Linked DNA regions of Homo sapiens: regions 2, 3, 4 and 5 are each linked to region 1. Evidence: promoter capture Hi-C in 16 types of primary human blood cells and fetal thymus (Javierre and others, 2016). All regions are on one chromosome and are shown on one strand. The core of a region is centred on a gene start or on the middle of the fragment in contact, and the rest is flanking DNA. Distances in the headings are between cores, read along the strand shown.

The links. The method cuts DNA at HindIII sites, captures the fragments that hold promoters and counts their contacts. A CHiCAGO score of 5 or more calls a contact.
Region 2: a fragment that was not itself captured here is called in contact with the fragment with the promoter of PAM16 in region 1 in 1 of 17 cell types (M1 macrophages); the score reaches 5.4 in M1 macrophages.
Region 3: a contact is called between the fragment with the promoter of SMIM22 here and the fragment with the promoter of PAM16 in region 1, in 1 of 17 cell types (fetal thymus). The highest score is 6.5, in fetal thymus.
Region 4: a contact is called between a fragment that was not itself captured here and the fragment with the promoter of PAM16 in region 1, in 1 of 17 cell types (endothelial precursors). The highest score is 5.5, in endothelial precursors.
Region 5: a contact is called between a fragment that was not itself captured here and the fragment with the promoter of PAM16 in region 1, in 2 of 17 cell types (M2 macrophages and M1 macrophages). The highest score is 7.7, in M2 macrophages.

What each region holds. Positions count from the first base shown.
Region 1 is chr16:4,349,156-4,353,743 of GRCh38, forward strand. It overlaps PAM16 (presequence translocase associated motor 16), which reads right to left and starts at 2,166. Exons shown (of 5, transcript NM_016069.11): 1 at 2,077-2,166. The coding sequence starts at 2,079. The region is part of intron 27 of CORO7-PAM16 (CORO7-PAM16 readthrough); the gene reads right to left. The HindIII fragment of the contact is 23,481 bases long and covers 1-4,588 here.
Region 2 is chr16:3,874,944-3,879,531 of GRCh38, forward strand. All of the region lies in intron 1 of CREBBP (CREB binding lysine acetyltransferase), which reads right to left. Among named protein-coding and RNA genes, the nearest start is that of CREBBP, 3.5 kb to the right of the region's middle. The HindIII fragment of the contact is 1,369 bases long and covers 1,869-3,237 here.
Region 3 is chr16:4,792,445-4,796,618 of GRCh38, forward strand. SMIM22 (small integral membrane protein 22) reads left to right here and starts at 2,925. Exons shown (of 4, transcript NM_001253794.2): 1 at 2,925-3,005; 2 at 3,271-3,414; 3 at 3,504-3,604; 4 at 3,746-4,047. The coding sequence starts at 3,291. The coding sequence ends at 3,787. The HindIII fragment of the contact is 14,181 bases long and covers 1-4,174 here.
Region 4 is chr16:3,949,780-3,954,367 of GRCh38, forward strand. TRIDDENT (TRIM28 interacting DNA damage repair enhancing non-coding transcript) reads right to left here and starts at 665. Exons shown (of 2, transcript NR_120311.1): 1 at 493-665. It also overlaps a transcript of ADCY9 not described here. The HindIII fragment of the contact is 695 bases long and covers 2,256-2,950 here.
Region 5 is chr16:3,968,231-3,972,818 of GRCh38, forward strand. The region is part of intron 10 of ADCY9 (adenylate cyclase 9); the gene reads right to left. Among named protein-coding and RNA genes, the nearest start is that of TRIDDENT, 20 kb to the left of the region's middle. The HindIII fragment of the contact is 7,552 bases long and covers 1-4,588 here.

The DNA of each region.
Region 1 (4,588 bases), core at 916-3,415:
CATGTTAGCCAGGATGGTCTTGATCTCCTGACCTCGTGATCCACCCGCCTGAGACCCCCAAAGTGCTGGGATTACAGGTGTGAGCCACCGTGCCCGGCCAGCACTTTCTTTTCCTGTTAATATACTGTCATGCTGGGTGCGGTGGCTCACGCCTATAATCCCAGCACTTTGGGAGTCCGAGGCAGGAGGACTGCTTGGGCCCAGAAGTTTGAGACCAGCCTGGCAACATGGCGAAACTGCATCTCTACAAAAAATACAAAAAATTAGCTGGGCATAGTGGAGCATGCCTGTTGTCCCAACTACCCGGGAGGCTGAGGCTACTGGGGAGGATGAAATGGGAGGATCACCTAAGCCCCAGGAGGTTGAGGCTGCAGTGAGCTGTGATCGTACCACTGTACTCCAGCCTAGGAGACCCATCTGGGGCAACACAGCAAGACCCCACCTCTACATAAAATTTAAAAATTAGCCAGGTGTGCTGGCACTCACCTGTAGGCCCAACTACTTGGGGGTCTAAGGTAGGAGGATGGCTTGAGCCTAGGAGTTCAAGGCTGCAGTGAGCTAGGATCGCTCCACTGCATCCTAGCCGGGGCGACAGACAGACATCCTATCTCAAAAAACAAACCAAAAAAACCCCATGAGTTTTGGGACAGAGCTGGGCTCAAAAGAGGTCTCTGACACCATGGGATGCATGACTATGGTGGAGTCAAAACTGTCTGGGGCTCAGGTTCCTTATCTGTAAAATAAGGACAATGACAGCAGGACTTCATAAACACTAAATGAGAGACTCTACATAAAGCCTTAGCTCAGGGGCTGGCACTTGTACGCCGTTAGCTGTTACATTATCCTTATTACTATGTTAGTTAAGAAGTGGCTCCCCGAACCAGCTGCAACAGAGTCACTTGGGGAACTTACGTGTGCAGAACCTCCAGGGATAGAGCTCAAGAACCTGAACTTTTTTTTTCCCCCTCTTTTTCTTTTTGAGAGAGTTTTGCCCTGTCGCCCAGACTGGAGTGCAGTGGCACAATCTTGGTTCACTGCAGCCTCTGCCTCCTGGGTTCAAGCGATACTGGCGCCTCAACTTCCCAAGCAGCTGGGATTACAGGTGTGTGCCACCATGCCTGGCTAACATATGTATATATTATGTGTGTGTGTGTGTATATATATATATAAAATACATGATATATAAAAATATATATAACATAATAATATGTAGTATACATAAATGTATACGGTATATATAATACATATATATAATTTTTTTTTTGAGACGCAGTCTCACCCTGTCGCCCAGGCTAGAGTGCACTGGCGGATCTCGGCTCATTGCAACCTCTGTCTCGCGGGTTCAAGCGTCTGTCCTGCCTCAGCCTCCCGGGTAGCTTGGACTACAGGCGCGCACCACCCCACCCGGCTAATTTTTTAAATTTTTTGGTGGAGACCGGGTTTCATCATGTTGGCCAGGCTGGTCTCGAACTCCTGACCTCGTGATCCGCCGCCTCGGCCTCCCAGAGTGCTGGGATTACAGGCGTGAGCCACCGCGCCCAGCCAAACCTGCACTTTTAAAGCTACCCTAGGTGACCTGACAGTGTGGCGCAGGTCTGTTGACTGGCTCTACGTGCCAACGATATCACACAAACGCTCCGTGCTCGGTGTCTCGGGGCCTAGTTCAAGTCCCAGGTCAGCCACTTCCCTGGAAAGGCCAGCTTTCCACTGGGGATAACAACAGGGCAGCAACATCGACTCTGCAGCGCTGTAAGGTTCCAGGGCAGGGGAGGCGCTCACCAGCCAGACTCATGCTCCACCGCTGCCCACGGCTGCTCGCTCACACGCGGGCTAGGCACAGCGCGACCACGTTTGCCCGGCCTCTTCCAGGCAGACGGTTTTCCCTGGCCCTGAGGCCGCCGGTGCCGCCGCTGCCGGCCTCGATTCCCCCGGGTGCAACGCCCCCAGACCATGCTTCCCGCCGGGCACGCAGGGGGCGCACGGCGCCCGCCGCCCAGCCCGGAGCTCGCCGCCCGGCCCCCGGCCCCCGGCCCGACTCGGCTTCCCCTCCCCGGTAGCGCCCGACTCGGGGCTCACCATGGCAGCCGCTCTGCCTCCGGGGCTCAAACTCCGACTTCCTGGCCCCGCGGCCGGGGATCAAGCGTGGTCGGCGGGTCAGAGGTCAAGGAAAGCCGCAGAGAGCGCGTGCGCGATACGGCGCTGGGCATGCGCATTGCCTCAGTCTAAGGGCGGGCCACCGGGAGCGTCTTAGCGGCTCGGGGCGGGGTCGGAGGCGGGGTTTGACTGAGCCTGCGTCGGGCTCTGGATAACTGGGGGCGGGCTTGGGAGGGCAAGGGGCGTTACCGGGAGTCTCAATTGCCCGCGTGCTTACCCCAGTGCGCTGGAGCAGCTAAGCACATCGGTCAGACGTGGGGCGATTTCTGCCCTTGATTTTGCCAAAATATTTGGGAATGCAACATTATATGAAATCAATGAACATAATATGGAGTAGGATGCTAAATTCTCAAAAATACTTTAGAAAATAGAAAACTTCAAAATAGGTTTCATCCACATTCCTCCTGCCTGAGAAGCTCGTTCCCTTCTTCAAATCTTTGCTCAAATGTCACCTCAATGAGGCCCACCTGGACCCCTTAAAACGCCGTGACTTGCCCTCCATGAATGAAAAAAGTAACAGCTTTATTGAGATATAATCCATACACTGTAGATTTCATGATTTTCAAGTGCACAGTCCAATGCCTTTTATTCACAGAGCTGTGCCACTGTCACCACTATTAGTTCCAGAACGTTTTCATCACCCATTAGTCACTCCCCAGCCCCCTCCCCCAGCCCCTGTCAACCACTCATTTTTCTCTCTATGGATTCACAGGTTCCGGACATTTCATAGAAATGGAATCATACAAGCCAGGCGTGGTGGCTCATGCCTGCAATCTCAAAACTTTGGGAGGCCGAGGTGGATCGCTTGAGGTCAGGAACTCAAGGCCAGGCTGGGCAACATGGTGAAACCCCATCTCTACAAATACAAAAATTAGCCGGGTGTGGTGGCAGGTGCCTGTAATCCCAGCTACTTGGGAGGCTGAGTGGTGGATCTCTTGAGCCCGGGAGGTACAGGCTGCAGTGAGCTGTGATCACTGCACTCCAGCCTGGGTGACAGAGTCAGGCCCTGCCTCAAAAAAAAAAAAAAAAAAAAAAAAGGTAAAAATGAAAAATGAAAAAAAAGAAGAAATTGAATCATACAATGTGCAGCCTTTTGTGACTGGCTTATCCTCCCTTCTTGTCTCTATTTTTCTTCCAAGACTCTGATCACCCTCTACCATACCACATAATTTACTTATTTATTTTATTTATCATTTTGAGACAGGGTCTCACCCTGTCGCCCAGGCTGGAGTCCAGTGGCACAATCCTGCCTCACTGCAACCTCCACCTCCCAGGTTCAGGCGATGCTCATGCTTTAGCCTCCTGAGTAGCTGGGATTACAGGCATGGACCACCATGCCCCATTAATTTTTGAATTTTTAGTAGAGACAGGGTTTCACCATGTTGGCCAGGCTGGTCTTGAACTACTGGTCTCAAATGATCCACCCGCCACAGCCTCCCAAAGTGCTGGGATTATAGGCATGTGACACTGTGCCCAACCGGTTTTTTATTTTTAAATTATTTTTCCTTTTTTTTTTTTTTTTGAGATGAAGTCTTGCTCTGTCACCCAGGCTGGAGAGCAGTGGCCCAATCTTGGCTCACTGCGATCTCCACCTCCTGGGTTCAAGTGATCCTCCCACTTCAGCCTCCGAAAGTGCTGGGATTACAGGTGTAAGCCACCGTGCCCAGCCAAAAAAAAATTTTTTTTTTTCAAGATAGGGTCTCACTCTGTTGCCCAGGCTGCAGTACAGTAGCATGATCATGGCTCACTGCAGTCTTGACCTTCCAGCCTTGAGTGATACTTTCACCTCAGCTTTCTGAGTAGCTGGGACCACAGGCATGTGCCAACACATGTGGTTAATGTTTGTTTTTTGTCTTTTTGAGAGCGTCTCCCTGTTGCCCAGCCTGGAGTGCAGTGGCATGACCTCGGCTCACTGCAACCTCTGCTTCCTGGGTTCAAGAGATTCTCTTGCCTCAGCCTCCTGAGTAGCTGGGACTACAGGCATGGGCCACCATGTCCGGCTAATTTTTTGTATTTTTAGTAAAGACGGGGTTTCACCGTGTTAGCCAGGATGGTCTCGTGCTCCTGACCTCGTGATCCGCCTGCCTTGGCCTCCCGAAGTGCTCGGATTACAGGCGTGAGCCACCGCGCCCAGCTAATGTTTGTATTCTTTGTAGAGACAAGGGTTCCCCTATGTTGCCCAGTCTGACCTCAAACTCCTGGGTTCAAGCAATCCTCCCACCTTGGCCTCCCTTTATTTTTATGTTTATTGTTGAGAATCTGTTTCCTTCCACTAGAATGGGAGTTCCTTTTGGGCAAGCATTTCCTCTCTCTTCTCTGCTGTTAGATGTCAAGCGCCTGGAAGAGCATCTGGCGCACAGCATTCGGCAAATGGTGGGATGAAAGTTGGGCCACCTGGAATCCTACTCTACACCGCTGCCCTTCTTCCTCTTCC
Region 2 (4,588 bases), core at 1,303-3,802, 470 kb before region 1:
CTTAACTAAGGTAAGACACACTTTGGCAAAATCATTTTCCTAACTGTTTTCAAATACATCAAGTAAAAACACAAGTCAGCAATTATGGACCCCCCAGGTAATCACATACTTTGCCACACAATTACAACACACTACTTAGAAGCTGTGAAAACACAGGCGACTAATCTAAGCATCAACTTCCAACTGCAGGACTCAGTCTCTTTGTAAGTTATGTTCAATTCTGTTTACAGAATCAAATCTGAATGTTCAGCCAGGAGCGACTTTCCATCTTCTGAAGGCCCTCTAAGGCGCCCTGCACATGACTTGTCCTTGCCTACCTTCATCCCTGACGACCTTTGAATGGGGCCACCGCTCTCACCCCTCTCAGTTATTCAAAAACGAAGCACGGTCATGAAATGTCCTAGTCCTAAAAGTCTCTATGACAACTTTTATTCCTACTTAGCCAGAACTCACTGATGGGGTAACATAACCGTTTCTCATTCTCCCTGAGGTAAACAGGAACACGAGCCCACACACGTCACGCTGAGGATAACACCAGAACCAGAGGGAAAAGGGGGACGCCCTAACCCAGGAGGAAGAATACACTCCTGGCTGCCCCCACCACAGGTGGTTACAAACCTCCCCCTTAGTGATCTCATTCATGTGCGGGAAGGCCGCTACTGAAACTCACTAAGCTTGGCAGGTTCCTGGGTCGATTCAAGTAAATGCATTGTTTACAGATAGAGACTTAGAAAATAAATATATAGAGCTACGGACTTTAACAATCTAGTTTGGATCTGGTTTTGACCCTGTATCACCTCTCAAGTCCAGTTCCTCACCTAGAAAATAGCAGTAACAGCATCTTCCCTTCCTCACAGGACGCTGTAAGGATCAAACTGAGGTGACGTGGAGAAAAGCACTCTGATACATAAAGTACCAGACATACATAACAGACCATTTGGTTGACAACCATATTCGCCACCAGCTTTCTTTAAATAAGCTTCCCTATTGCATTTAAAAGGATTCACGTCATAAAATGTAATCACAACTGCTTAGAGCCACTTATACAGCACAGGATGAAACACAGCTATGTTCAATCTTCAGAATGTAGTTTTTCTTTTCCTTTTTCCCCCAGAGACAGGGTCTCACTCTGTCACCCAGGCCAGAGTGCAGTGGCATGATCACAGCTCACTGCAGCCTCGACCTCCTGGGCTCAAGCGATCCTCCTGCCACAGCCTCCTGAATAGCTGGGATTACAGGATTGTACTATTACACCCAACTAATTAAAAAAATTTTTTGTTTAGATGGGGTCTCACTATGTTGTCCAGGCTGGTCTCCAACTGCTGGCCTCAAGCAATCCTCCTGTCTCAGTCTCCCTAAGCACTGGGATTATAGGCATGAGCCACCACCCTGGCCTGCAATTTCAAAAAACTTTATAAACAGTCTGTTGTGTGCAAATTTTGCAATAAAGCTGACCAAAAAAAAAAAAAAAAAAAAAAAAAAACAACCCAGAAAACAAAAAACAAAAGTCTACTGCTTGCCTGGATATTTGTCTTATACTGTTAAATCATGAATCTCTGATGTTGAAAGACACAATATGCTATTTTAACTTGGACATATTAAATAAAGAAGTTTCCAAAACACCCAACTAACTATATACCGGTAATATAAAGTCCCCACTTATTGTAAGGGTGCCAAGTAAAGGAAGACCTCATGTATGAGAAAGTGTAAAGGCTTCTACATAATACAAGAAAATGCTACTTTAACATCTGAGGCCATCAAATTCTGTGCCTCTCCAGGGCTGCTGCTTCAGTGGGGTGAAAGGTACCGTTTCTCTCTTGCTACCCTCATTCGCAGCACATTCCGTATTTCTGCATCATCTCTGCATAAGCTTCCCAGGCTTCGGCAACTTGTTTGTCATCAGTGGCAGTGACATTCATCACTCTGAGGTGCTGCATGACCTTCGGGAGTGCTGTTTGCAACATCCATGCCCCCAGATGAGCAGCACCCTGGCTGAGCAGCTCCCCAATGTCGGGTGCATTTTTCTCTCAGCTCACTGCCACCCTTCACAGACACATCTAAGTGACACTGGTGGCCCCACAGGCCAGTCTCTACAGACATGCACTGCAGTCCAAGTAGATCCTGTTTCTCAGGCTGCCAAGGGCTCCTCCTCCTTTCAACCCCTCAGCTCCTAGACAGAGGTCCCCTCCCTCAAATTTGATCACATGCACCGGGCACACACCCTGCTCCACTAGGCCCAATTTTCCCCTGGGAGCCTCAGAGACACATCCCGTCACTAAAATAAGATTGAGTTCCTCAAGAATGTTATTCTCAGGTCTGTCCCACCTAACCAAATGCCTTCAGTTTTTGAATGTATTTAATGTAAAAACTCAAGCCATTTATTTGTTTAAAATACATCCCTAAGATCTCTGTCCATCTCATTACTCAATTTCTTAGTGGAGCAGTTACAACAGACAAAGTGTCCCTCGTTTCTTTTGGAGACAGCGTCTCACTCCATTACCCAGGCTGGAGTGCAGTGGCGCGATCTTGGCTCACTGCAACCTCTGCCTCCCGAGTTCAAGCAATTGTCATGCCTCAGCCTCTCAAGTAGCTGGAATTACAGGTGCATGTCACCATGCCTGGCTATGTTTTTGTATTTTGAGTACAGATGGGGTTTCCCCATGTTGGCCAGGCTGGTCTTGAACTCCTGACCTGAAGTTGATCCACCAGCCTCCGCCTCCCAAAGTGCTGGGATTACAGGCATGAGCCATGGCGCCCAGCAGCCCCTTGTTTAATGTGCTTGATAATGAGCCCTTCCTTGGTCCCCCATACTAACAGACCCTTTCACAATAGTGTGATGGTGATGAATGTGTAACACATGACCCAACTTAAGTATGATGTTGACTTTCTACTTTGGATTAAATCGGAGCCATTTAAAGCTGACTTTTGGTCCCACGAAAGAGCCCCTGTGCCTTACAAGGATCAAAATTGTAAAGGAAGGGGGAAAAGGTGGTTAAGTGTGGAAAATCCTTTCTGATCAACTTATTAAGCATCTGATCATCCAATAATGGACACTACTATGGAAAAAGCTAACCTTTGGGCTCCATCTTGGAAACAGCTGGATGTACATATAAGGACATGCCTTTTTGTTAAGTCTTGTGTTACTAATTGTCCCCCTTTTTAAGACAAAATCTACAACAAATTCATTCAACAACAGCAAAGCTACAAAGCCATCCAGGTTACCAGTTTCAGAAGACAAGCTTCAAAGCTGAACTCGCCACGTATGACCTACGTCTCACAGAACTGAAGACTACTCAAACACAGCAAGATTAATGAAGCAACGGAGATCTGTTTTGCAGTACAACGGCATTTAAACTACTGTTTCCAAATTTCTCACTTCAATAAGTTCATTTTATAAGATTAACGTCAAACTCAACTTTTATCAGCTAAAAAGAAAAGCATTAGTGATTTTTATATACCATGAGCATCATTTACTCCTCCCCACTGTTTAACAAATTTTAACTAGATAAGAATCTCCTTATGATTGATCTTTAAAAATCGCTTTTCACTTCTACATTAATATTAAACGTCGCTTATCATAACTTGATTCCAGGAATTGTATTCAAACTTAAGCCACAAAATTCAGGTTTTGTTTCAACAGCAATAGCAGTTTTTTTTAATATGCTAGTGGTCGGTCACAGAACTATTTCCACAAGTTGAACAGCTGTGTCTAGTGCAAATCTGAAGGCAGCGATGTAATTCAATTTGGACTCATTCATTAGAAACTGATTTTCAGATGCTACCACTGCAAGACTACTGGAGAAATGCAAGCTGCGCTGGAGATGGAATTGTTCGCAGCGGCACACAAGTTTTTGCGGCAAAGGAGAGAGCTCTAAAAGAGGAAATACAACTAGTTCATGTTACCATGAACCAGCGCAGTGGGACCCAGAATTACTGAATTAATAGAAAACTAAATACTTCTCTTAAGCAGCTATGATAACTTAAGAAAGTTTCCAGGGAAGCCGTTTAATGAAAGGAAACAAACAAAAAGATGATTTATTCAGTATCCTGCTCCATTTTTTTGAAAAATTGGAATTCCTACATTCCTTAATTCTTTGTACATCTACACTGTGAAAGCAACACAAACTCAAATGGAGATTGCAGCCCAAATGAACTTAAACCTGCTGTTTAACTTTCTTTTGAAGTTATACATGGAAATGAAACACACCACAGCAACTTTCATGACATCTTGCTAACGAAGTTTGGGTTTTGAAAAATGGAATGACTAGTTGACTAAAAACACACACGCGCGCACACACACACACACACACACACACACAAAACAAGGAGTTTTGAAAATAAGCACTAAGCATCTTTCCAAGGAACTCACTCATTCCAAGAAACTTCGGTTCTAACTCGCAAGCTGGCGGCTGCTGTGAGTGTCCTCTGAATGCAGCCTGGTCAATGTGTCGCCAATCCAGAAAACACACTGCCCTACCTTTGGCCGCGATCTTGCTTTCTCTAAGCATCAAAGGTACCCTCCGCTGTCATTCCTCTGGACGGCCACGCGTGTGGACACGGCCGCGGATGGATGCGTAGGACATTACCA
Region 3 (4,174 bases), core at 1,675-4,174, 440 kb after region 1:
CTCCCAAAGTGCTGGGATTACAGGCATGAGCCACCGCGCCTAGCCTCCCCTGCACTTTTTAAATAGAAGTATGTCTGCTGGGCGCGGTGGATCATGCCTGTAATCCCAGCACTTTGGGAGGCTGAGGGGGGCGGATTGCTAGAGCTCAGGAGTTCAAGACCAGCCTGACCAACATGGTGAAACCCCGTCTCTACTGAAAACACAAAAATCAGCTGGGTGTGGTGGTGCACGCTTGAAATCCCAGTGATTCGGGAGGCCGAGGCAGGAGAATCTCTTGAACCCAGGAAGCGGAGGTTGCAGTGAGCCGACATCGTGCCATTGCACTCCAGCCTGCCAGCCTGGGTGACAGCAAGACTCCGTCTCAAAAAAAAAAAAAAAAAAAAGGCCAAGCATCGTGGCTCACACCTGTAATCCTAGCACTTTGGGAGGCCAAGGTGGGTGAATCACCTGAGGTCAGGAGTTTGAGACCAGCCTGGCCAACATGGTGAAACCCAGTCTCTACTAAAATACAAAAGTTAGCTGGGCGTGGTGGCAGGTGCCTGTAATCCCAGCTACTCAGGAGGCTGAGGCAGGAGAATCGCTCGAACCCGGGAGGCGGAGATTGCAGTGAGCCGAGATGGCGCCACTGCACTCTAGCCTCAGCAAAAAGAGCGAAACTCTGTCTCAAAAAAAAAAAAAAAAAAAAAGGGAGGGAGGAGGATTAGAGTCAGAGGAGGAGACGTGAGCCTGGAAGCAGAGGGTGGAGGGATGGGAGACCACAAGCCCAGGAATGCCACCACCCTCTAGAAGCTGGACAAGGCAAAAGATGGACTCTGCCCTAGAACCTTCAGGATGAACACAGCCTGGTCGACCCATTTTAGACTCTGACCTTCAGAACCATAGGGCAATACATTTGTGTTGTTTGAAGCCACAGAGTTTGTGGTAGTGTTACGGCAGCATTGGGACATGGATACATTAGGTGTGTGACGGGCTAATGGCTAAACTTCTCTAGGCCTCCGTTTCCTCATCTGTAAAATGGAAAAAGCAATAATACCCACTTTAGGATTGCTATGAGGAATAAACCAGGTGACACAGCACAGTGCTCGATGCAGAGCCCCACATTAGCTGATATTTTCAAGTAGTAAAATAGAGAAAATAAGGACAGTGAAGAGTCCTAGTACAGCTGGCCTTCCGTATCCACAGGTTCCACATCTGTGGCTTCAGCCAACCACAGACAGAAAATATTTGGAAACAAATCACATCTCTATTGGACATGTACAGACTTTTTTGCTTACTGTTCCCTATACAATGTAACAATTATTTACCTAGCATACATTATATTAAATAAATATATGTATACAATTTTTTCTTGAGATGGAGTCTTGCTCTGTCACCCACGCTAGAGTGCAGTGGTGCCATCTTGGCTCACTGCAGCCTCTGCCTCCTGGGTTCAAGCGATTCTCCTGCCTTGGCCTCCCGATTAGCTGGGATTACAGGAGTATGCCACCGCACCCAGCCAATTTATTTTTTTTGAGATAGTCTTGCTCTGTCACCCAGGCGGGTGTGCGGTGACATGATCTTGGCTCACTACAGGCTCCGCCTCCTGGGTTCAAGCGATTCTCCTGCCTCAGCCTCCCAAGTAGCTGGGATTACAGGTGCCCGCCACCACAGCGGGGTAATTTTTGTATTATTATTATTTTTTGAGATGGAGTCTTGCTCTGTCACCCAGGCTGGAGTGCAGTGGCGAGATCTCGGCTCACTGCAATCTCTGCCTCCAGGGTTCAAGCAATTCTCCTGCCTCAGCCTCCTGAGTAGTTGGGACTATAGGCGCGTGCCACCATGGCCGGCTAATTTTTTGTATTTTTAGTAGAGATGGGGTTTTACCGTGTTACCCAGGATGGTCTTGATCTCCTGACCTTGTGATCCGCCTGCCTCGGCCTCCCAAAGTGCTGGGATTACAGGCATGAGCCACCACACCCGACCAATTTTTGTATTTTTATCTTTTTTTTTTTTTGAGATGGAGTTTTGCTCTTGTTGCCCAGGCTGGAGTGCAATGGCGTGATCTCGGCTCACCACAACCTCTGCCTCCCGGGTTCAAGTGATTCTCCTGCCTCAGCCTCCCTAGTAGCTGGGATTACAGGAATGTGCCACCACGCCTGGCTAATTTTGTATTTTTAGTAGAGACATGGTTTCTCCACGTTGGTCAGTCAGGCTGGTCTCAAACTTCTGGCCTCAGCTGACCCGCCTCTGCCTCCCAAAGTGCTGGGATTACAGGCGTGAGCCACTGCGCCCGGCCCAATTTTTGTATTTTTAGTAGAGGTGGGGTTTCGCCATGTTGGCCAGGACGGTCTCAAGCTCCTGATCTAAGTAAGTGATCTGCCCAACTTGGCCTTCCAAAGTGGTGGGATTACAGGTGTGAGCCACCAGGCCAGGCCAAATATATTAAGTATTATAAGTAATCCAGAGATGATTTAAAGTATAGAGTATATGCACAGGTTATATGCAAATACTGCCTCATTTTATATCAGGGAGTTTATAGCATCTGTGGATTTTGGTACCCACGGAGGTGCTGGAACCAATCGTTGAGGATTCCAAGGACAACTCTATGATGCAGGCACACCTGTCCTAGCTGCTCAAGGGTCGTGGGATGCAGGTAGGTTTTCTCCCCCTTCCCCCTCCCTCCCACCCACCTTCTCTCCCATCTCTCTCTCTTTCATTCACGAAGTCAGCAGTGGCCAAGCACACAGGTGTTCCCAGCTGCATATCTGGGATACTGAGGAAAGGTAAGAAGTCTCAGGAGTGAAGAAGCCACAGGCCGGCGTCTTCCTCCCTGGGCCTCCAGCAGTGGGGAGCCAGGGAGCGCACCTGCTGGGCCTGGGCCCTCTCCCCTGGGCTGGGCGGCCTCTGCTGGCCCTGGGGAGGGCGGGGCTGGTTGCCAAGGCCTCAGGTGGTGTGGAGCCGGAAGCAGGAAGCAGCCTGTGCTCCCCAGGACCTGCCTGGTTGGGGGAATTGGAGGCTTCTAGGAGGTAGGTGGGGGCCTGGGGGCTGGGCTGCCAGGGGGAGAGAGAGGGGAGATGACAGTGGCTGGGGAGAAGGTTGTCAGGGTAAGGACCACAGGGCTGGGCAAGGAGAGAAGCTGGGCCTGGGGCCGAGGGAGAAGTGGAGTGGGAGGGGGTGGGGAAGCTGGCGCTGGGCCAGGAGCGGGCAGTGGCTGGGCTGTGGGAAGCCTGGATGTGGTCCCCGCTGAGCTGAGCCCAGGATCCTGATGCAGCCTCTGGGGGACCGGGGCAGGTGGCACGGTGCACGCCAAGATGGCTGTGTCCACAGAGGAGCTGGAGGCCACGGTTCAGGAAGTCCTGGGGAGACTGAAGAGCCACCAGTTTTTCCAGTCCACATGGGACACTGTTGCCTTCATTGTTTTCCTCACCTTCATGGGTAAGTGTGGCTGTGGCCTCTGGGTCCTCCCAGCCCCCTGCCCTGGGCTCCAGGTTGGGGCCACACCTGGACGCCTGTCCTGTCCCCAGGCACCGTGCTGCTCCTGCTGCTGCTGGTCGTCGCCCACTGCTGCTGCTGCAGCTCCCCCGGGCCCCGCAGGGAAAGCCCCAGGAAGGTGAGCCCCTGGAAGGTGAGCCCTGCCGGCCTCTGGGACCTGCACGGAACTGTACTGGGGGTGGAGGCGGAAGGTGAGGGGAGTGGCGGGAAGGGTGCTCATCCCCCTAGGGAACAACGAGCGAACCTGCTTGGTCCCGCTGTGCTTCTCGTGCAGGAAAGACCCAAGGGAGTGGATAACTTGGCCCTGGAACCCTGACCCTGTGTCTCCTGCCCGGTGGCAGTAACAAAGCCTTCTGTCTGCCCAGAGCCTGAGTCTGCAGTGTCTTCCAGTCCCCGTCTGGGTGGGTGACGCGGGACTCGCCGCCCCACTCAGGTGGCCACCTGGCCTCTCCAAGCCTTCAGTCAGCACGACTGTGCCAGGTCATCCTCAGTCACCTAGCTGGGAGGGGAGCTGGTCTCAGGCCGGGCGCGGTGGCTCACACCTATAATCCCAGCACTTTGGGAGGCCGAGGTGGGCGGATCACGAGGTCAGGAGATCGAGAACATCCTGGTTAACGTGGTGAATCCCCGTCTCTACTAAAAATACAAAAAATTAGCCGGGCGTGGTGGCGGGCACCTGTAGTCCCAGCTACTCGGGAGGCTG
Region 4 (4,588 bases), core at 1,353-3,852, 400 kb before region 1:
CTCCTGAGGTGATCTCAACTGTGTCCATGGCTTTTGGACAAGGTGAGACGAACTTAATTCTTTTTTTTTTTTTTTTTTTTTTTGAGACAGAGTCTCGCTCTGTCGCCCAGGCTGGAGTACAGTGGCGTGATCTCAGCTCACTGCAACCTCTGCCTCCTGGGTTCAAGCGATTCCTGTGCCTCAGCCTCCTGACTAGCTGGGATTACAGGTGTGTGCCACCACACCCTGCCTGTTTTTGTATTTTTCAGTAGAGGCAGGATTTCACCATGTTGGCCAGGCTGGTCTTGAACTCCTGACCTCAAGTCCACGCCCCTTGGCCTCCCAAAGTGCTGGGATTACAGATGTGTGCCACCGCGCCCGGCCTGTAATCCTACTGGCCGTCAAATCCACTTTAAAAGCAGTAAAGGCATTTGACTCCTTCCTGTTTCTCGTTCCTTCTCACCCCCACTCAGGCCATCTCCCCTCGCCCCACCACTTCCTCCCTGCACCTACCTTTCTTCCTTCCTTTCTCGGTGAAGTGAAGGGTCACCTCTCATTGTGGAAGAAGGACTAGTAAAGCCAGCTTTAAATGAACATTACTGGGTTGGCCTATGCCAGGCAGGCGCGAGGTCTCTATTCCCCATGTGACAATCAAGCTGGGTGCGTTCACGCCCAGGATGCTGGGGTTGTCCCACCTCTAGGTTTGGAGTGGGACGACGAGGAGAAGCAATTTGTTCAGGAGCAGAGAAAGTTCGCTTGGCTGTGACTCATCGCCTCTCCATTGAGAGTCTCCGGCGGGTCCGTGATCATCGGACACGATCATGATCCGTCCTCAGGCCCCGCCTGTGCAGAGTGCGCGGAGGCCAAGGAGTTATTGGCAGAAAAGCAAGAGCGGAATGAGCTTGCGTACTTGAAGTCTGTGGCCGTCTGCCAACATCTCCTTCAAATATGAACATTCTTATTTTCGCTCTGGAAGTTTTTGTCAGGTTTATTGCAAATGCAAGGGTGGTGAGCAGACAGAAAGAAAATGGTATTTACTGAGCTGGAAGGACTGTTTTCTCAACCGTTTCTCAAGAGCACGCAAGGAGACGTGCACTTTCCTGGGTGACATCAGGTTCTCCGTGGGGATTTTAATCCAAATCAGATATGGCCTTGTTTTACGAGGGATCCTCTTGGGTCTCAGGGTGTGAGGATTCATAATAAGTACACGTCCATCCAGTACATGGCGAAGACCATTGTAAGCCACCCCTGGAAACACATACAAGACAGATGGGCACGCAGTTCACAGGATAGCGCAGAATTCTAATGAATTTCATTGGCATCAAATGTTATGTTCCTGTAAACTGAGAGCCATGAAATTAGAATGAGTGCCTCACAATAGTTCAAAAGTGACTCACTTCATTGAAAAAACGTCTCGGAAACATAAATTGGTAAATCAAAACTAAAACTAGTACCCTTTAAAAAAAACTGAGAATGATGTCCCTAAGTTTTTTTTTTTTTTTTTTTGAGACGGAGTTGCGCTCTTGTTGCCCAGGCTGGAGTGCAATGGCGTGATCTCGGCTCACTGCAACCTCCGCCTCTTGGGTTCAAGTGATTGTCCTGCCTCAGCCTCCCGAGTCACTGGGATTACAGGCACCCACCACCACTCCCAGCTAATTTTTGTTATTTTTAGTAAAGAGGGGGTTTCACCATGTTGGCCAGGCTGGTCTCAAACTCCTGGCCTCAAGCAGTCCTCCTGCCTTGGCTTCCCAAAGTGCTGGGATTACAGGCATGAGCCACCGTGCCCGGCTGGGATGACTATTTTAATCTCAAGAGAGCCATCTGGGTTCCTTCCAGGGCACAATTCTATTTAAGGATATACTTTCTTATTTTTACACAAGTTTGATAACTGGATAAAAAAAAGACGAACTTTTTTTTTTTTTTTTTTGCATGGACCAAAAAATGTAGCCATAAGAGCATTTGTTAATACGCACGTCTAACATCCTCCTTCCCACCTCCCTGTGCAGCACAAAGTGGTAAAGACAGCAAGAATTTTCTTTCTAAACAGTTGGGCTGAAATTAAACAACAACAACAACAAAAACCCAAATGCCCATTCTCCTCCCAGCGGAAGTACAACCTCTCTTTGTATCATGTTACTCATCCGCTGCACACACCTGTTCATCCAACAACAGCTAACAAAAGTCAGACTCCGAGTTAAGCGATGTACACATCACAGTTTGTGCTGGAAATCTGATCCAAGCACATGGACAGAACTTTCTATGGTTCTCGGCTCCTAAGCTTGGCAGCTTGTTTTCAGCGTATTCTTAAAAACCTAGGAAACTGGCAATCATACTTCTAAGTTAAAAGATTGGGAAATCAGGCCAGTGAATAAATACTTACTTTGGATCTGCACTATTGATGAAAAATAAAAAATCACTGGAAAAAAATGAGCCCCTTTCTTCTATTTTTGCTCAAAGCAGTCCAAAGAAAACAAGTTTTGGTTCACTGCTGTCTGTGAGCTCAGTGTTGAACAAATTCCAGCAAAATCACAGAGAAAGTTGGAACCAGATTTGCAGCGCTCTATCTCATACATGTTTCTTCTTCTTCTTTTTTTTTAAGAGACAGGGTCTCGCTCTGGTGCCCAGGCTGGAGTGCAATGGCACAATCACAGTTCACTGCAGCTTTGAACTCCTGGATTCAAGCGATCCTCCTGCCTCAGGCTTCTGAATAGCTGGGACCACAGGCACGCACCACCACCCCCAGGTGCCTTTTATATCATTTGTAGAGATGGGGTCTCACTATGTTGCCCAGGGTGGAGTGCAGTGGCATGATCATAGCTCACTGCAGCCTCCAACCCCTGTTGCCAAGGCTGGTTCCAAACTCCTGGGCTCAAGTGATCCTCCCACTGTGGTCTCCTAAAGCACTGGGATTATAGACGTGAACCACCACAGCTACCCCGTGGTTCTTAAAAAGGGGTCTCCTTAAAAAGGAAGCTTCACCTTCCTTTTTGGTGTGAGGGAGACAGACCGTCAGGGAGAGGGCACTTTGTTCTTCTAATTGCCTTTCTGCAGAGGTTCCTGCTCAAGGAACGGGACGCCTAAACCTCAAATCCCCAGTGGCATTCAAGGCTGCTCGCAGGCACAGGGCGTGTTCTGGCCAATCCTGTTCGAGCAAGGGGAGCTGACATTGGCCCAGCACAGGCAGGCTGCACAGAGCTGCAGCCCATTCTTCCTGGAAGCGCCTGCATCAGAGCCAAGGACAGGCCACCTAGTAGCAGTGTCCCTGGAGCCTGGTGCTTGGCTCAGTACATTAAAATGCAACAACCAGGCCGGGTACAGCAGTTCATGCCTGTAATCCCAGCATTTTGGGAGGCTGAGGTGGGCGGATCACTTGAGGTCAGGAGTTCGAGACCAGCCTGGCCAACATGGCGAAATCCCATCTCTACTAAAAATACAAAAATTAGCTGGGCGTGGTGGCCTGTGCCTATAGTCCCAGCTACTTGGGAGGCTGAGGCAGGAGAATCACTTGAACCTGGGAGGCAGAGGTTGCAGTGAGCCGAGATCGCGCCACTACACTCCAGCCTGGGCGACAGAGCGGGGCTCCATCTCAAAAAATATATACGTATTTCACAGATACAGTCCTTCCTCGTTTTGGTAATTGACAGAGCATAAGCAGTTTTTAATTTTTTCAAATTTACAATTAGGCTCCTGCACGGCAACTCTCTTCCTGTGAACTGAAGGGAAACTTGGAGTCTCCCTCTCCACAGGGTTCTCGTCTTCTGGAAAAGAGAAGATGGGAAAATGCGGATAAGAAGAGGGTTAGAGGGGAGGAAAGAAATAAAAACCGAGCAATTTCTAGAAAACATGATGATTAAAAAAAAACCATCCACGCTTTTGGAATGGACGGATTCTTTAACACCTGTGGATTTCCTTATTCTGTGACTAGCAAGCTCCCAAGCCCACAGGTAGGAAGCTTCAGCCAGTGTGTGTGGAAAAAACGCCGGTTTTGGGATACGACGGACAAGTCAGAAGCCTGCTTGAACCGCCGTCACCCCTTTGCAGCCATCCAACACCACGAACAGCAAAAACATCAGGTTCTGGCAACCTGTGGGGACAAAGTGACCATCAGCACGGGGAGGTCGCTGTCAGAGCCGCGTCACAGCTCTTACGCCTCCCAGAATGGTTTTTGGTGTGAGGATTGCTGCATGGATTGAGAAGGTGGAATTTGATTGGAATAACTGGATCATCTCACGGATGGCTGAATCCTAAAATGCCTACAAAGCGTGAAACTGACTCAGGATTTCACAGAGGATGGTAAGGCTCTGATTTTTCCACTTGGCACTCATCTGGGTGTTATCATTAGCACTTTGGTTTAATGCTGCAGGGTGAGGAGGATGTACCCAGAGGCCCCACTGACGCACCCCGTCCAGTGGCTTCTGACATGCAGAGCTGCAGGACGGGCGTCGCTGAGCTGGCCGGGGCAGGCTGGGAGCTGAGCTTTGCAGACACTGGGTCCTGGTGAACGACGATGCTTCGACATCCACTCTTCTGGGCATTCCCAGCCTGTCCTCTGCTCTGTCCCTGCCCTCCCCTAATTCCAATTGGTGGGATTGGGTGGGGCTCTCTGGGC
Region 5 (4,588 bases), core at 1,342-3,841, 380 kb before region 1:
CAAGTGATTCTCCTGCCTCAGCCTCCCCAGTAGCTGGGTTCACAGACATGTGCCACCACACCCAGCTAATTTTGTATTTTTAGTAGAGACGGGGTTTCTCCATGTTGGTCAGGCTTGTCTCAAACTCCCGACCTCAGGTGATCCGCCCACCTCAGCCTCCCAAAGTGCTGGGATTACAGGTGTGAGCCACCGCGCCTGGCCTTGGTTCTTAGATTTCTAATCCAATAAACTTATCATTTTACAAATAGCTTTTATGAGTTCTATACTCTCTACCTGTATAAAAAAGTTTGACAAGACGCCATCTCCCCTGATTCTGGGTTAGTTCTTTTTGCCGAAATCACTCAGGACAATGCTAACATCTGAACCAGTGCCATTATTTTCTCATGGCTGTGCAGTGTTCCAGCACTCGGAAATTCTGTAATTTAGCCAGATTCCCCCTGATGGAACTGGGCCCGAGTCTGTCTTTTCTTACCACAAACAGTGTCACAGGGAATATTCCCCTACCCCTATCTTTGTGCGTATGGAAGTGCTGAGTCATTTTAAATATTGCACATTTAGAATTTCCTTAGAAATTTCCAAATTGCCCTTCTAAACAAGGCTGAACCAGTTTCTGCTTTTTTTTTTCTTTTTTTTGAGAAGGAGTCTCGCTTTGTTGCCCAGGTTAAAGTGCAGTGGCGTGATCTCGCCTCACCACAAACTCCGCCTCCTGGGTTCAAGCAATTCTCCTGCTTCAGCCTTCTGTGTAGCTCGGACTACAGGTGCACGCCACCATGCCCAGATTATTTTTGTACTTTTACTAGAGACAGGTTGGTCTCAAACTCGTGACCTCGTGATCCACCCGCCTCGGCCTCCCAAAGTGCTGGGATCACAGGCGTGAGCCACCGCGCCCAGTCTCTGCTCCCTTTGATAACTGAGCCTGCTTTCAGCGGGGCTGTCTCCACTTCAGTGGCACTGATGGAGACAGCCATGGTCAGGGGGCTGCAGATGAGTGGTGAGTAGCACAATTTCTTTTTTTCTTTTTCTTTTTTCTTTTTTGAGACAGAGTCTCACTCTCTAGCCCGGGCTGGCATGCAGTGGTGTGATCTCAGCTCACTGCAACCTCCACCTCCTGGGCTCAACGATTCTTGCGGCCCAGCCTCCTGAGTAGTGTGCGCCACCAGGCCCAGCTAATTTTTGTATTTTTTTTTTGGTAGAAACGGGGTTTCACCATGTTGGCTGGGCTGGTCTCAAACTCCTGACCTAAAGTGATCTGCCCGCCTCGACCTCCCAAAGTGCTGGGATTACAGGTGTGAGCCACCACACCTGGCTGAGTAGCACAATTTCTTAAAGTTTGTTTGAAATATATATATATATATATATATATATATATATATATATATGTATTTTTTTTTTTTTTTAAGAAGAGACAGGGTCTGTCTCTGTCATCCAAGCTGGACTGCAGTGGTGCGATCCTAGCTCACTGCAGCTTTGACCTCCCAGGCTAAAGCGATCCTCCCGCCTCAGCCTCCAGATTAGCTGGGACTACAGGCACACACCACCACACCTGGCTAATTTTTTGAACTTTTTGTAGAGATGAGGTCTTACTATGTTGCCCAGGCTGGTCTCAAACTCCTGGGTTCAAACTGTTCTGCTTCTGCCTCCCCAGTGTGCTGGAATACATTTTTTCCCATTTAAAAATACTACATACTCATCATAGAAAATGTAGAAAAAAATAGACAAAAAAGATTTGTCCATCGTCCTGCCATCCAGAGGCAATCACTATTAACATTTGTTGAACTGCATTCTAGTCTTTTTCTTTTTTACAACACCGTGACTGTTCTGTTCATGTAAATGCTGTACCCTGATGCATTCCTCCCGCGCACAGAGTAGGCCAGTTGATTTGATGCAATAATGGGCTTGGTCACTATATACTTATATATGCGACTGGCGGATCCACAGTTTAGACAGCTCCATCACACTGGAAAGCTCAATTCTTTTTCTTTTAGAGACAGGGTCTCGCCATCTTGCCCAGGCTGGTCTTGAACTCCTGAGCTCAACCAATCTGCCTGCCTTAGCCTCCCCAAGTGCTGGGATTACAGGGATGAGCCACCACGCCTGGCCAAAACTCAATTCTTCTTTTTTCTTTCTTGCTCTGTTGCCCTGGCTGGAGTGCAATGGCGCGACCTTGGCTCACTGCAACCTCCGCTTCCAGGTTCAAGTGATTCTCTTGCCTCAGCCTCCCGAGTAGCTGGGACTACAGGTGTGCGCCACCATACTTGGCTAATTTTTGTATTTTTTAGTAGAGACAGGGTTTCACCATGTTGACCAGGTTGGTCTGGAACTCCTGACCTCAGGTGATCCACCCGCCTTGGCCTCCCAAAGTGCTGGGATTACAGGCACGAGCCACCATGCCCGGCCAAAAGCTCAGTCCTTTAATCAAAGTGTCTAATAAGTTTCACTAACTGTTCTTGGGATATTAAAAAACAATGAGCTTGACCTGTGTGGCCATCACGGCCCTCTGCGAAGCACAACCGCCAAAAGCCCTGGCCGTGGGTGGAACAGAACCCCTGGGCCCCATCCTGGCTGGACCGCGGGGGAGTTTCAGAATCTTGGGTAAGCCATGCCATCTTTCTGGGTCTCAGTTTCCTCGCTTGTAAGCTGTGAAGATGGACTGGAGCATGGCTACGTCCCTTCCAGCCTAAGGTTCCGTGCAGGAAAGGCCTGAGGCTGCCATCCTTGGAAAGACCTGCCTGCAAAGGTGGTGGCTGGCACCAGGGAGCTGGGATTTGGGGAGGGTTCCTGCCATTCCTTGATAAGAGCGGCTCACACTGCCTACACTGTCTAAATAAGGAGGTTTACGCTGAATACCCGCTTTCCTGCTGGAAGTCTGGAATTTAGGCACGTGCTGGGCAGAGGCGGGAGACCTGAACAGCCCCTAATACAAGCCTGGACACCGAGACTTTAATGAGCTTCCCTGGTAGGCAGCATGTTACAAGTGTTGTCACCACTCACTGCTGGAGGAATTAAGCCCATCCCGTGTGACTCTACCGGGAGAGGACTCTTGGAAGCTGGTGCCGGCTTCCTCCAAACGTCAACTCACACACCCTTCCCTTTGCTGATTCTGCCTTATGTCTTTTCGCTGTAATCACAGCGGTGAGAGAGCAGATTGCGGAGTCCTGAGTCCACCTGGGGCTGGTCTTGGGAGCCCTGATACGGGCTTTGTGACTCAACGCCTATGACCAGGAACCAAGAGTCCTCAGTGGGAAGACACCCTGTGCTTCACTGACTCATTTCGTGAACTGCTATTGAAACAGATGACATTACATATCCTACATCTCAAGTACTAAGCAAAATAACCATTTGTTACGATGATGACTCAAACATATTTCTGTCCAGCTCCATGAGCCCTCTGGTTGATTGTAAATAGAGCAGGAAGAGAATATGGACTGGGGGAAGGTTTTGTGAGCCCCGCTCGTTGGGTTAGGAGTTGACCTTTCTTTTGGTTTCTCAAAGTGGTGACACCAAGAACAGTCCCCTTTAGGAGCAGGTGTCACCAAGGTCTAACATCCCCATTATGTGCAGGGGGTGTTTCCAGTCTCTGTGGTGGAAATGGGAGACTGTATCTGGGCTTCTCAATCAGTTATCGCTTGTACAGCTCACTCTAATCTGCGGGAGCCGGAGCCAGCAGCACAGCTGACTCGAGACGGGCGCAGGCCAGGCCCCTCCAGGCAGAGGAGGGACAGCAGCACATGGGCTAGTGCCAGAGGGAGAGGAAGGCAGAGCACAGCGTTTGCTTTCCACCTTTGCTTCCAAGGAAGAAAAGCCATCACACACAGCATGTGCACTCAGAAACCAAGGGGGCTGCCTCGCAACAGAAGGCATCTGTAAGAAACAGGTACGAGGACAGCTTCCCAGCTAGAATGTGTGTTTCCTATTTTAATACCAAAGGAACAAAGGAGCCGATCCTATTCCTAAATTCAAATAGCAAAGATCCACTTCAAAAAGAAGAATTTCTTTTTCTTTTCTTTTTTTTTTTTTGAGATGGAGTCTTGCTCTGTCCCCCAGGCTGGAGTGCAGTGGTGCGATCTAGGCTCACTGCAACCTCTGCCTCCCGGGTTCTAGCAATTCTCCTGCCTCAGCCTCCCGAGTAGCTGGGATTACAGGTGCCCGCCACCACGTCCAGCTAATTTTTGTATTTTTAGTAGAGATGGGGTTTCACAAACATGTTGGTCAGGCTGGTCTCGAACTCCTGACCTCAGGTGATCCACCTGCCTCAGCCTCCCAAAGTGTTGGGATTACAGGCGTGAGCCACCACACCTGGCTCAAAAAGAGGCATTTCATGTGACTAAATGCAGGAGTTAATTTATAAGTCATAAATGGAAGTTAGAGTAAAATACAGTGTAATCCGTTATCATGGAGAAGAGGGATTGAAAAACTGAAAAAAATAGAAAGCAAACATCACTTGCAGTCCTAACCAGCCAAACGTGGCTTCGGTTGACACTTTGGTATATTTCAGTGCCATTTAAAATCTGCCCCTAGGGAGGTGGTCAGGTCGGGGGAGAGGGGGTCAGCAGCGGTGGGGTTGGAGGGCTTCTGGGGTAGTGGTAAT